2 separate regions of the Homo sapiens genome follow, and region 1 is linked to region 2. Evidence: promoter capture Hi-C in human tissues and cell types (Jung and others, 2019). All regions are on one chromosome and are shown on one strand. Each heading gives the region's core, a stretch centred on a gene start or on the middle of the fragment in contact. The rest is flanking DNA. Distances are from core to core; before and after follow the strand shown.

The links. The method cuts DNA at HindIII sites, captures the fragments that hold promoters and counts their contacts. A contact is called where the count stands out against the background at its distance.
Region 1: a contact is called between a fragment that was not itself captured here and the fragment with the promoter of UCN3 in region 2, in 1 of the 25 tissues and cell types used here (IMR-90 fibroblasts).

What each region holds. Positions count from the first base shown.
Region 1 is chr10:5,304,619-5,311,266 of GRCh38, forward strand. It overlaps the pseudogene RPL26P28. Among named protein-coding and RNA genes, the nearest start is that of LINC02561, 37 kb to the left of the region's middle. The HindIII fragment of the contact is 3,209 bases long and covers 2,383-5,591 here.
Region 2 is chr10:5,360,502-5,367,105 of GRCh38, forward strand. UCN3 (urocortin 3) reads left to right here and starts at 4,465. Exons shown (of 2, transcript NM_053049.4): 1 at 4,465-4,729. The HindIII fragment of the contact is 10,177 bases long and covers 1-6,464 here.

The sequences.
Region 1 (6,648 bases), core at 2,737-5,236, 56 kb before region 2:
CAATGTAGATGACATATTTCTCTCTGTAAATCTGGACTACTTTGCCAATTTGCTGACCTTTATGGTGCCCTCACACAACCTGAATATCATCATCCTTTCAGACGGGCATGGATCAAACGTTGTACTTCTGTCTCAGCTCTTTGGAAAGAGGGGAAGACATAACTGTCCTGTGAATGTGGGAAGGCGCATTGAAATGCCTTTTGCAGTTACTACTTCGGTCAGAAGTCACAAAGGGATTGAACTTCATTTTGGCCACTCCCACTTCAGTGATGGCCACAAAGGGCCCCACTGGTTATTAATGTCTTTTTTCAACTCAAACATTTAAACTATATAACCTGGCATATTGTAGAAGAGAACTGTGCAGCATTAAATATTAGCATCTCACACTCGCATGAACAGAAATATTCAGATTGCAAAAATATACCAATTTATGAAGATTAATATTAACTCACTAATTTTTCAAAGACTCGCAATTATTTGATCAATTTCAGGAGAAACTATTCTATTTTTGCACTATGTTCATGCAAATTGCCTAAGACTCATCAGTTTCTGTTATTTTCAAATATAGAGTCACTGACTGATTCTATTAATATTCTGCCTCAGTATTTAAAAAAAATTCTCCTATAATAATTGGAAAAGTTAACAGAAGTGATTAGATTTGTCTTAGAGTGTCTCTTATTTTGTGAACCTTCATGTGAATCTTCAGTATCTCTTATTTTGTGAATCTTCATCATAATCTGAAGTATTCCCATTACTTTTAGGAAAAGAACCAAATGCTTAACCTGATCCTCATAAGATCGCATAATGTATATATCTCCGTATGCTCACTTTGTATTTTATCATCAATATTTGCTGCAACAAAGCAAAACCAACTTCCAAGATAAGGTCCAGCATATGTGGACTTCCCAGCAAATTTTAGTTAATGCTGCCGTCTAACGCCTGGCTCTGATATTACATCAGCTCAGGGTTTTAACCAAAAACAGACACAAATGAGGTCACCTAAGGAGACTTTAGCAACCATTTCCAAGTTCCCTTTGACTAGCTCATTCCACAGACGAGCAAACTGAAGCCCAAAAACTCAGGTCTTTCTCCCAAGATCACACAGCGAATGACCGTCAGAGAGAGTTAGAACACAGAATTGCTGTCTTCCCCCAGACAGGGCATGTGAGGTGTGACCACAGGGCTCTAGGGGTGGTGCCTCACCTGTTAGGCTTTCTGAAATTCACAAACTGCAAAGCATGGCACTGCCCCTAGGAATCTGTTACAGAAAACAAGGATTCTGACAGCTCAATTAAGAAGCAACCGGAATTCATGCAGCCGGGGTCCTTGTGAGAAACAATTTGCATATTATACCAGAAAAGATGGAGAGGTAGCAGAGACCAGGTGCTGCTCGCTTTTGTGTACTGAACTCAGGATTTCTAACTTAATCCTGACGATGACCAGCTATAGAAGGCCTCTAAGCAAATTGAAGAAGGTCACTCCGGCTCAAGGGTATAGGGCGGGTCTGGAGACAGGAAGACCAGCAAAGTTTTATTTTGGTAGTCCAGGGTACCGACGATGAGGACTGCAGGACCTCTACTCTTCTAGTTCACAGAGTGTATTAGTCCGTTTTCACGCTGCTGATAAAACAAACATACCAGAGACTGGGCAACTGACAAAAGAAAGAGGTTTAATTGGACTTACAGTTTCACCAGGCTGGGGAGGCCTCACAATCATGGCTGAAGGCAAGGACGAGCAAGTCACATCTGTGGATGGTGGCAAAGAGAAAGAGCTTCTGCAGGGAAACTCCCGCTTATAATACCATAAGATCTCATGAGACTTATTCACTATCAGGAGAACAGCACAGGAAAGACCCACCCCCATGATTCAATTACCTCCCACCAGGTCCCTCCCACAAGACGTGGGAATTCAAGATGAGATTTGGGTGGGGACACAGCCAAACCATATCAGAGAGCTAATGGGAAGATGGTATTATCAGGCTGTCTAGAGGACACAGGAGAAGGAGAAAGGGTTGTGGGTCCAGAGGAACAATCACTGTAACTGTGGACATGCTGAGCTCGAAGGTCGTTTACACAAATGTGAACCTGACAGAGCCAATCCTTCAAGATGGATCCCAAGCAGCTAACCAGGCGCAAATTTTAAATACAGCCAAGTAGCCATTTGTTGACTGGAGGTCACACAAGCACCGTCAGTTCCCCAAAACCCACACCTCTATTTAACTTTGGAACTTTCAGAGCTCACTTGAACAAACCAATCAGAGCTTACCTGAATCAATCAATTAGAGTTCACCTAAACCAACAAAGGAGAGCTCATCGGAACCAACCAATCAGGGTTCAGCTGTATCAACCAATCAGTGTTCAGCTGTGTTGACCAATCAGTTTGAAGTTTTCATTTGCATACTTGAACCTGATTGGGCAGAAACTTTTGCTATAAAACCTAGCCCCAGCTGCTTGGGAAGCTGAGGCAGGAGAATCACTTCAACCCAGGAGGTGGAGGTTGTAGTGAGATGAGATTGTGCCACTGCACTCTAGCTTGGGTGACAGCAAGACTCCATCCCTCAAATAAAAAATAAAAATAAAATAAAATTTAAGAAAACACCAAACCCTCCCTTTGTTCCCTGGAACACATCTTTGTTTACACCGGAGGCTGCATCTCCCTCGTTTGTCAGCTGTTTGCTGGAATAAAGTCTCTTTCCTCCAATTTCCTTCCCAGAGAACTTTTCCTTACAACCTTAGAAGACAGCCAAATGGAAATACTTAGTAGGTGTTGGAATATTAGGCTGAAGCTCAGGAGCAGGGGGCAGATTTCAGTTACAGATTTTGCACCAAGATACATTTAATGTAATTTTGAAAATTGTCGTAGTCATTATGTAATGAATTATGTAATAAAATTAAATAAGTTAAATAACTGAATAAATTAAATAAAAATATGTAATAAAAGTATGCAATATAATAATTATGTAATGTAATATATAATTTTAAAATCCTCATTGTTACACCGAGATAAGTCTGCCTTGGAGGCAGGTGGAGTTGCCCAGGAAGACTGTAGAATGAGAGGCCAGGAAGACAACTGGAGAACCCACATGTTGGCGTGGGCAGAGTCCACACAGGAAATGAAGGAAAGGCAGATCCATTAGAACGATATTGATAGGATCTCACATCGCAGAAGGGGGGAGCAGTTATGAGAAAAATATGCTCAACACTGACAAATGCTGGGGGAAAAAACTATAACTCCACACTGCCAACTGAGGAAACAGCAAGAAGCTGTTGGTTAAAGCCACCAAAGCTCCCGGAACATTACAAGTTGCCCAACGAAGAAGGGGCCAGTATGAAGAAAGGGAGAAGGAACACAGGGACCCCTGAGGCTGCATCCCAAAAGAAGATGACCATCCTAGAGGAGAAGGAGCTGTGAAATCCTCATTGTCACCGCAGCTTACTTTGCAGAGGGCACAGTAATTTTTCAACAAGTGAGGTGGGAGGTTCGAGAGGTCTAAGTGGGTATTCAAATCAATAGTACAATCTAAATTATAACCTGACTCTGATTTGGGAGTGTGGTGACTAATGTATTTCGGGAAGAAGATCATTGCTGCATGTGCCAAATGACAAACAGGTGACACAAGTTAGCAAAGTTTTTTGTTTTGTTTTTATTAAAGAATACTTAGTGCTAATGAGGATATGGTGAAATAACTGTCTACTCAAGAATGAAAATTAATATTAACCTTTTGTACAACAATGTTGCAATATATATCAACATGTTTACATCATTTGATATAGTAATTCCAATTCTAAGATTTTTAATTAAGTAAATAATTTATAATATGGAGTAAGCCTTATGTTTATCTCAGGGTTATTTATGATAGGAAAAAACTAAACTCAAACTAAATTTTTCATGACAGAGGAATTATTGAGTAAATTATGGTACACATTTCAAGTGGAAAATCAGGCAAATGTTACAAATAATAACTGAAAGTTTTTAATAACTTGGAGAAATAGTAATTATATAACATTAAGCAGGAGAAATAAGATATAAAATTTTATATGCATTATTACATCAGTTCTGCTTTTTTAAGTCCATATAAAAAATTCACAAGATGCCAAGTATAATGTTCTCTGCAAAGAAGAATTGAGGTGATATATTTCCTTCTCTTTCAAATTTTCCTTACTCATCCTGCAATATTTTTATAATCAGAAAAGGTCATCCGGGCATTCAGGGATGAGAGCTGTTAGAAGGATTCCAGGAGTCTCACAGGCTAAAGCAGGTGAGGAGGGCTTCATGAAAGTAGTGGGACTTGAATTAGAATCTGACGGGAAAAAAAAAATTATACACTGAAGAGGAGTGAACGTTCCTGGCAGGCAGAATGATGACAACACGAACAAGATGGGGTGGTGAGTTAGGTGCAAAGAGTTGACCAGTTGGCTGGAGAGAAAGGAGACTTTGTGTATTGGAATATTGGAATTTAAGAGTAATCAGATGAATATAATATTGATGGAATGGAAGAATAAAGCTATTGAATAGTTTTGATCAACAAAAAAGACTCATGTGTTTTCTTCTAGCTTTAATTTTCATTAAACCCTCAAAACAATGGTTGGCATAGGAAGTGTTTGACAAACATTTGTGGGATGAATGAATGAGGAAACAAAGTCCAGGGTAGAAAACATTCTGTAAGTGCCGTTTAAATGCCTTTATTTTCTTCTGCAATCAAGTGTCTCTCCAAGATGATAGAGTAAGGTAGCCTCTCCACCTTTCAGCTCTGCTAATTTGCAAGTCAGACATATTGAGCTTCTGAAAATTTCACAGACCCACTCTCCCTTGGAAAAAATGATAGAGATAAAGTAAATGAAATAATTACTTCTCTACTATTCACCAGGGTCGTATATTACTCAGCTGAGGAAAATGATGATGTGTGCCATTTACTAGTTTAAAAAAAAAAAAAACACTAAACAAAAACTCTATGTAAAATTTCAAATTAAAAGCTTTTCCTAAGCATGGGGTTTATCTATTTCACAATGAAGACTGCATATTTTTCATCTTCCTTTCTAAATAGCTATTGATTACATTCAATTAATTCAGAATCTGATATAAAAAGATTTTCCTAAGACCTAACTCTCAAAAGAGCTAGAAAATGATGTCCAGGTGTTTGAAGCCAAGTCTCACACCAAAGCCCATGGGCTCCACCATCAGTCATCCTGCCTGCTGCCTCTCATATCTCCATCTCCAGCTGGCTGGTGCTGTGAGTTGTTCCATCGGCCCTTACCTCCACTCCACCCTTGGATTTACATTGTCTTGAGTTCTTGTATCTTACAAAATGTATAAGCTGTCAGTCAGCTAACCTGAAAGTCCAACTGTAATTCATGACCAACAGAGAGAAGAGGATAAGCATGCTCCCACCCAAAGCCCTTTTTCTACACAAGCAGCCAAGCACTGCTCTGTCCTCAGACCTCATCTGCCTGAGCTTTCATACATTGTTGTTCACCATCCCTCTTTTTAAAAATTCACCACTTGGCTTCTTCAAGTATTTCTTAAAACGTGATTCTTGGTCCTCTTCCTTCCTTCTTTACTCTCTTATATGTGTACGTCATGCAATGCTGCACATTTAATCCTATCAGGAAGGGTGATGAGGCATAAAGAGGACAGATTTGGAATCAAGCAAACATAGGTTTTCTGTGTGTGTTGGTTCGGTTTGTGTGTTTTTTTAGAGACAGGATCTCACTGGGTCACCCAGGCTACAATGCAGTGGTACAGTCCTTGCTCACTGCCCCCTTAACTTCCTGGGCTCAAGTGATCCACCACAGCCTCCCGAGTAGCTGAGACTATGGGTGTGTGCCATCACACCTGTCTAATTTTTTAATTATTTTTGTAGAGACTGGGTCTCACTGTGTTGCCCAGGCTAATAGCGAACTCCTATTGTCAAGGGATCCTCCCACCTTGGCATCCCAAAGTTCTGGGATTACAAGCATGAGCAACCATGCCCAGCCAAGCATATGTAGGTTTGAATATCAGTTCCACTACTTACTATTCTCTGTTGAATTACCTAATCTATATGAGCCAAACAATATTTTCCTTACTGAGAGGTTGTGGAGATTACATGAGGCCATAGTCAGGCTTACCGCATGGTACATGCTCAATACATGTGAGTTATCCTTATAATCATTATTAGGTGTGTGTTAACATGGGGATATTTGCTGATAATTAATTAATAGTAAGACTAAGCTTGACTGATGCTGGAGAACCAGGGTTCAGGAATTTGAGAATGATTGCCTTTGGGACACACACTTTTGGAAGAGGCCTTCCACCTGACCCTCCACGTCACTGCATTTTCTTGCCAGCTATGCCCAGAATGCATGGTCCTGACTGCATCTTGCCTGGGCTGTGTCTCAGGGTTGTGCTTATAGCAAGCAGCCTTCAGGGAGGAAGTAATGTCTTTCCCTAGGCAAAGGGCAGGCTTCCCTCCACTTGCTCTAAAGCCATGAACCCTCCAAGCTCATTGTTCCCAACCCACTACATGTGGGAATCTGTGCAGGTGCCTAGCATGTCAGTGGTGCTGACAGGTCAAGTAACACAAGAAGGGAGAGTGGATTGTTTGGTTTGACAAAATGAATGTCGCTGGTGTCCCTGAGAAGAATCAAGTTTGCTGGTGTCCTTGAGAGA
Region 2 (6,604 bases), core at 3,215-5,714:
CTCAGGGATGAGGAACTCTGAGGGTGGTTAGAACTTGGGATTCTAGAGCATCTTAGCAACAGAGCAATAAATGTTTAGAGAAGTGACAAGACAAGATAAAATACTTTGAGTTTTTAGGGGAGGCAAATTGCAGGAAGGTAAATATACGAGGAAACTAATGAAAGATAAGGGCTAGTGAGTAAGGTTTGTTAGGTAGATTTCTCTGGCTCCTCCCGGCTAATAAAACTCTAGGTTGTCTCAGGGGATTAGGTCTGTTCTTCCTGGTAGAGAGAAGGGCAGACACCTTTACAAATGCATGTCCTGCCTTGGCAAATATGGGAAGGGTAAGAGCTTTTCTATCAATAGTATCTGCTTTTCCTAAACTGTCGTCAGCTCAAAATAATCCTTATGCCATATGGTATATTTTGGAGTCACATAGTTGGCTACCCTTCATCACAGAAAAACATTTAAAAATATTTGAACTGAATGACAATGAAAATACAACCCATTAAAACTTGTGGCATGTGGCTAAACCAATGCTTAGAAGAAAAGTTATATATTAAATAGCTTTAGATGGTTAGATTGTAAAATACAGGGAAAATGAAAATGAAGACTTCATCAATACAGCAGATGGCAGAAAAGAAAAAACAATAATAAATGGAAGAAAAGGGGGATAAAACTGTGCAAATAGAAATCACAATGTAAGATGGATGGTAGAAAATAATTCAATACATCAGGAGTCAAGTATCTTTACATTAGTTTATTAAAGTCCTTGGTTAAAACACAAAGATTGTTAGATTTAATTTTTAAAATTTAAATATATACCATTTACAAAGTAATTCTGAAACAGAAAAGACTGGAAAAATACAGCAAGCAAAAGTTATCCAACGGAAAGCTGGGATAGCTATTTTGATATCAGGCAAAGCAAACTTTATGAGAAGTATTATTTAGGATGAAGAGGTTAACAGCAAGATGATAACATGAAGAATTTATATATGCCAAACACTCCAAATATATAAAACAGAAATAGACAGACTTACAAGACAAAAATTGACAATCCACAAACACAACAGGAGGTAAACACACACCCTGCTAAAAGTGAGAAATCACGAACAAAAAATCAGTCAGAGAAAATAAGGGAGAACTGAAGAAGAAAGATGATGCTAATATTCTGTGTTCACATACAACTTTATCAAGTTATTGCAATACTATCTTGACATCAACCTTGCTAAAAACAAACAGGGAAGGCACAGCAATCTACATTTTAAAATACAGGAGACAGAGGACTAGGGAATGTGGGTGTCTGTGAGAATCAAACAGCCATGCTAGCAACCCAGGCAGAAATGAAAACGGACCTTCCCGGCTCCTCAGTAAAACTTCTCTCCTATAAGTCAAGCTCTCTCACACTTTGCTAATTCTCTCGTCTATCTTTATTTTACCGCCATGCTCAGATGTTGAGGAAATAATTATGTTATTAAGTGTAAGTGCTTTGAGCACTTTGGAGAAATGAGCTTTATAAATATGAGCCATTTCTATTCACCTGAGAAGCTGATCAGCTTTTTCTTCTCACCCTGGCCCTCTTTGTACCCTCTACAGGACATTTACATCCCTGAACAACATGCTCATGCTGAGTCCACGGAAGATACCAATGACTCACAAAGGCCAGAGAGAAGTGCAAGTGTAGAAACACGCCACATTCACACATCAGCCATGGGGAGGGAGGGAAATCGTTGTTTGCTAGAAATGACACTCCAGAGGTTTTGCTACTCATCATCTTCTTGCTGCCCAAGCCTCTGTTCAGTCCCCCACCAGATGCGTCATTCAAGTTGTAAAGCAAATGTACTATTTCTTGACATTTCTAGAAAACTACACCCTGGACTGCACCCTTACAGCTGCTCATGTCCATGAAACATTCTGTGTGGAACTCCATCCAGGCTAGCAGAAGTCACTGGACAATGCCAAAGCCCACCCAGGATGGACCAGTGGGAGCCGATGAGCCTGCTCTGTGTGACGAAGGGACGGCAGGCTCCAAGAACAGCCACCAACACCAAGACCCTTCAGTCCCAGCGAGGTGGCCTCAGGGTAGGAGGATTTCTAGGAAGTTCAGAGGAAACAAGGTAAGAAAAGAAGCCAGGGTTCATCGTCTCTCTTTCTAAACCCCATACTGTAGGGAAGTGGTCCTCATGCCCCCAGAGGACATGTCTGGAAACATTTTTGATGGTCACAGACAAAGAGGGGAGTGCTACTGGCATCTAATGGGTAGATGCCCAGGATGCTGCTAAATTCCTCCAGAGCTCAGGGCAGACCCCAAGGCCAACAAGGAATTACCTCACCCAAAATGTCAACAGTGCTGAGGATGGGAAACCCTGCCCTGGGAGACCAACGTTGCCAGATCCCTGGCATCTCAGAGCCCATAAGGCAGACAGGAGAGTTAAACTCAGGTGGAAATCTACCCCTCAACCTGCATAAATTCCATTACTGCATCATTATCTGAAATGGAAAGCAGAACAAAAACCTCACAAAAACTAGAACAAATGAATGAATGAAGGAACTAATGAAGGAATGAACTAATGAATGAATGAATGAATGAACTAATGAATGAATGAATGAAGTAATGAATTTGAATTGAAACACAGATTCAGTTTCATGTTGCCTCCAATCTCAAGAGGATCCTAGCCCAGGCAGCTCTGAAAGAAGGAAGAGAGGGAGGTCCAATTTCCTATCTCCATAAAGAGACTTAAAATGGGGAGTACAGAGTCTTGAAGTCCTTCCCCACAACAGCTTTCCATTTGTTCCTCCAAATGCTCATGGGCTTTAAAGAGTTTTGGTAATTTCAGAAGACCTCTTACCTCTTCACCTGCAGGAATTCACGAGAGTGGAGCAGCCGTCTGGGAGGAGGGCTAGGGACAGCCAGCCGGTCTTGCAGGGCCCCTTGTCATCAGCTCAGCCCAGTGAAAGGAGCACTGAGCCCAGCGTCAGGCCTGGTTCTCACCTGACTCTGTCACCCTGGGCCTGTGGGGTCCCAGCAGGTCACTTTTTACAGCCTCAGCTTCCTCATCTGTGAATAAGGGGTCAACAGACCGTAGTCTCCCACATCTCCCCATTACATATGGAATAAACTCCCAACTCCGCAGGCCTTTGGAGCACCTTAGTGCAGAGCAGCCTCTGCACCCACCAACACCTCCCTCCCATCGTCCTCCTTCTCTCCCGTTCCTCTCAGCCCTGGCTCAGTCCATGCTGATCCATCCTTTCTGTCTGAAACCCCTCCTGCTCTCCTCTCCTGTCTTGAGTAGACAGGACTGCTCTCTTCTGTAGCATTTTTTACCTACCTTTCTTTCTTTCTTTCTTTTGAGATGGAGTCTCACTCTGTTGCCCAGGCTGGAGTGCAATGGCGCCATCTCAGCTCACTGCAACCCCCACCTCCCAGGTTCAAGTGATTCTCTTGCCTTGGCCTCCTGAGTAGTTGGAATTACAGGCACTCGCCACCATGCCCGGCTAATTTTTTTTGTATTCTTAGTAGAGCCGGGGTTTCACCATGTTGGCCAGGCTAGTCTTGAACTCCTGACCTCGTGATCTGCCCGCCTCGGCCTCCCACAGTGCTGGGATTACTGGCATAAGCCACCGCACCCAGCCTTCCCTACCTTTCTAAACCATGAGGCCCTGTATGGTTAGGGGCCACAACTTACTTATCTCTGAACTCGTGGGTGTCTTGGCAATACCTGGTACACAGTAAGTCCTCAATAAATATAGGATGCATAAACGAGTAAAATCCAAGCCATTTCCCACTAAAACCTCCAGACCTCTGGTGTATGATGACCTGCTGTCATAGCCCAAAGGAATGGTTGAGTTTCAGGTATCCAGAGAAAAATGCAGGTGTAGAGCTTTCCCCTCAAACGTATTAACAAATAGATGGTGCTCAGTCATTTTCGCGGCAGGCTGCAGAGAAATCTTAAACTTTCGTGTTGTTTCACTGAGGGTACGGCAGAAGAGCCCAAGGAATGTGAAAGGAGAAACTTGCATAATTAGACTTTATGTGGGGAGTAGGCACCGAGTGTGTGACAAGCACAAGGGGCTACGTGTGCGGCCAGATGACGCTGCACGGTCAGAACCCACAAAACAACACGGCAACAGGTGGATTTTAAACCCCTTCTCTGCTTTCAAAGCAGGTCCAGGCTCTACATTTACAGAAGGAGAGTTAGGGCAAGGGGAATGTGGGGGAAACTGAAATTAGTTAGAACTAAGATCAGCAATAAAATTCTTCAAAGACACTGCTTCTCACTTTACCAGGATTTTTGTTTTGTTTTGTTTTGAGTTTTTATTTCTTCTTTTTCTTTTTTGTTCTTTGCTTTTATCAATGAAGCAAGTTGCTAGGATGCAAAAGGAGTTGGGGGGTAGAAGGGCGGGGTGGGAAGCAGAGGTGGGAGGGGTCGAGGTTGGAGCACCTGTCGTCTGCATGACGTGGACGGCTGGTTCTGGTTGTATTTTAAATGAAATCTCATCCCAGCGTAGACACCACGTCTGGAATTACGATCCACCCTGTGATCTGTCACTTTTATATACACACAGGGGAGGGGACCGTTTCCATAGAGAGGGAATATCACAGCCCACTTAGGAACAATACCGGAGAAGCAGGAGCCGAGACCCCGGAGCAGCCACAAGTTCATGGGGACGTGCACGGGGCCGCCCTCCTGGCCCTGAAGCTGCGCCGGCCTCCCTGAGCGTTTCGCTGCGGAGGGAAGTCCACTCTCGGGTAAGCTTGTGGCTGGGACTGACTTATGAAGGGTAAATGTATCTGCCCTAATTTAAGCAGGAGGTGCCATGCACTAGACAGGTGTGAGAGATGAGAGCTGCTAGCGCCCCTGGGTGGAAGCCCAAGGGAGCGATGCTGAACGCCCCCCACCCAATCAGCAGAAATCAGCCCCAAAGGGACCAGGGGAAGTTTCTCAGGGAGGCACAATCACATTCCCACGTTGGTATAGAGAGACCCTCTTTCCAAAGGTGTTAGATCAGAGGCAGAAGGTGTTCACACAAATCTGTTTTCTCTGAACAGAGCACAGCTGTGCACAGGAAAGTCAGTCCTCGGAGACAGTTTACAAATGGGGATGGGGTAGGGATGCCGGGGCTAATGGGAGCCACAGGACATGACTCCACGCCGCCTGCAAAGCAGCGAGGACACCTGCACTTACTGTTTACCTGTGCCACAAACCTTCACCTGTGCCATCTCCCGTCACTCTCGGGCACACCTGTGAAGCAGGTAACGTCTCCTTCCTAGGACGCGGCAAGTGAAATGCAGGTTAAGGGATTCACCCAAGAAAAGTCAGAGGCAAGGGAGTTTCCCCAGCCAGGTCCTCTGCCACCAAAGCCCAGAGCCCTTTGCCACACTAGGAACATTGCGGGGGTGTGTGCAGATACCTACAATGGCTAACTCCTACCTGTGAAGGGGAGATGGATGTTTGATGTTTATGTTTTCTGAAAATTCCTGTTCGCAATTTCTTTCCCAAGCATAGCCACCTACCAAAAATAACAAATGTGAGATTTTTAAAACGTTTTAAGTGGTCTAGTTTCAGTTTAACTTCTTATCAGTGTTTGCAGACAAACGGAGCCCACAGGAATAGCTCTGCACTTGGCAGAGATGTGTGATCAGTACTGTTTGCCTCCTGCCTTTGCTGCTTCATGTCCTGTCCTCTCCCTGTGAGGTGCTGGGAATTGGAGGCTGACCCAGGTCCCTCACGTTTCAGTGCTTGGCTCTGCCACAGCTCCCAGAAGTAACTGTGTCTCTTTACAGCATCCTCGACAAGTGCTACTGTCACCATAGCCCAAAGGAATGGTTGAGTTTCAGGCACCCAGAGAAAAATACAGGTGTAGAGCTTTGCCCCTCAAATGTATTAATAACTAGATGGTGCCCAGTTATTTTCGTGGCAGACTGCAGAGAAATCTTAAACTTTTGTGCTGTTTCACCAAGAATATGGCAGAAGAGTCCAAGGAATGTAAAAGGAGAAACTTGCAAAATTAGACTTTATGTGGGAAGTACAGAGTATCTTTTCTTCTTTGGGGAGAGTTCCTTTTCTTTTATCCTATAAACCCTAAACAAATCTAAACAGATCCTAAAAAGAAAAGTCCTGGAAAGAAATCTGAATCTACCTTCCAGCCCCCAGCCACTCACACACTTTGATGGTGAAACCATCCAGGGTTGCAAAGAACCCTTACATTTTAAACGATCTAAAACTAAGCTCAGCACCGGGCGTCCCTATCATGTCCAATTCACAGTTCTGGGAGGTTCCTTTGCTGTGTAACTTTGCATCATTGCTGATGGTAAGGGGACACCTTTCAATACCCTCACAACCGTGTGCAGGCTAGAGCTGAGGGTTTGCAGAGAGAGAAAGGTCTGCTACCTGCAGATGCACCAAGAACAGAGCGCCACGCAGGACACTTGCTCCCTGACACTTTCACAGATTTTTCCACACCTTCAGCACCCTAGCCGTGATTACAGTATTCTTCTCTGATGGTAGACTTGGGATTTGAAAAATAAGAAGGTAATGCATTTTTTAAAAGGCACAGTATTTACAAATTGACCCCAAAAATGTGAAAAAGTAAATATAGAGGTAAAAGGGATCTCACTCCCTCT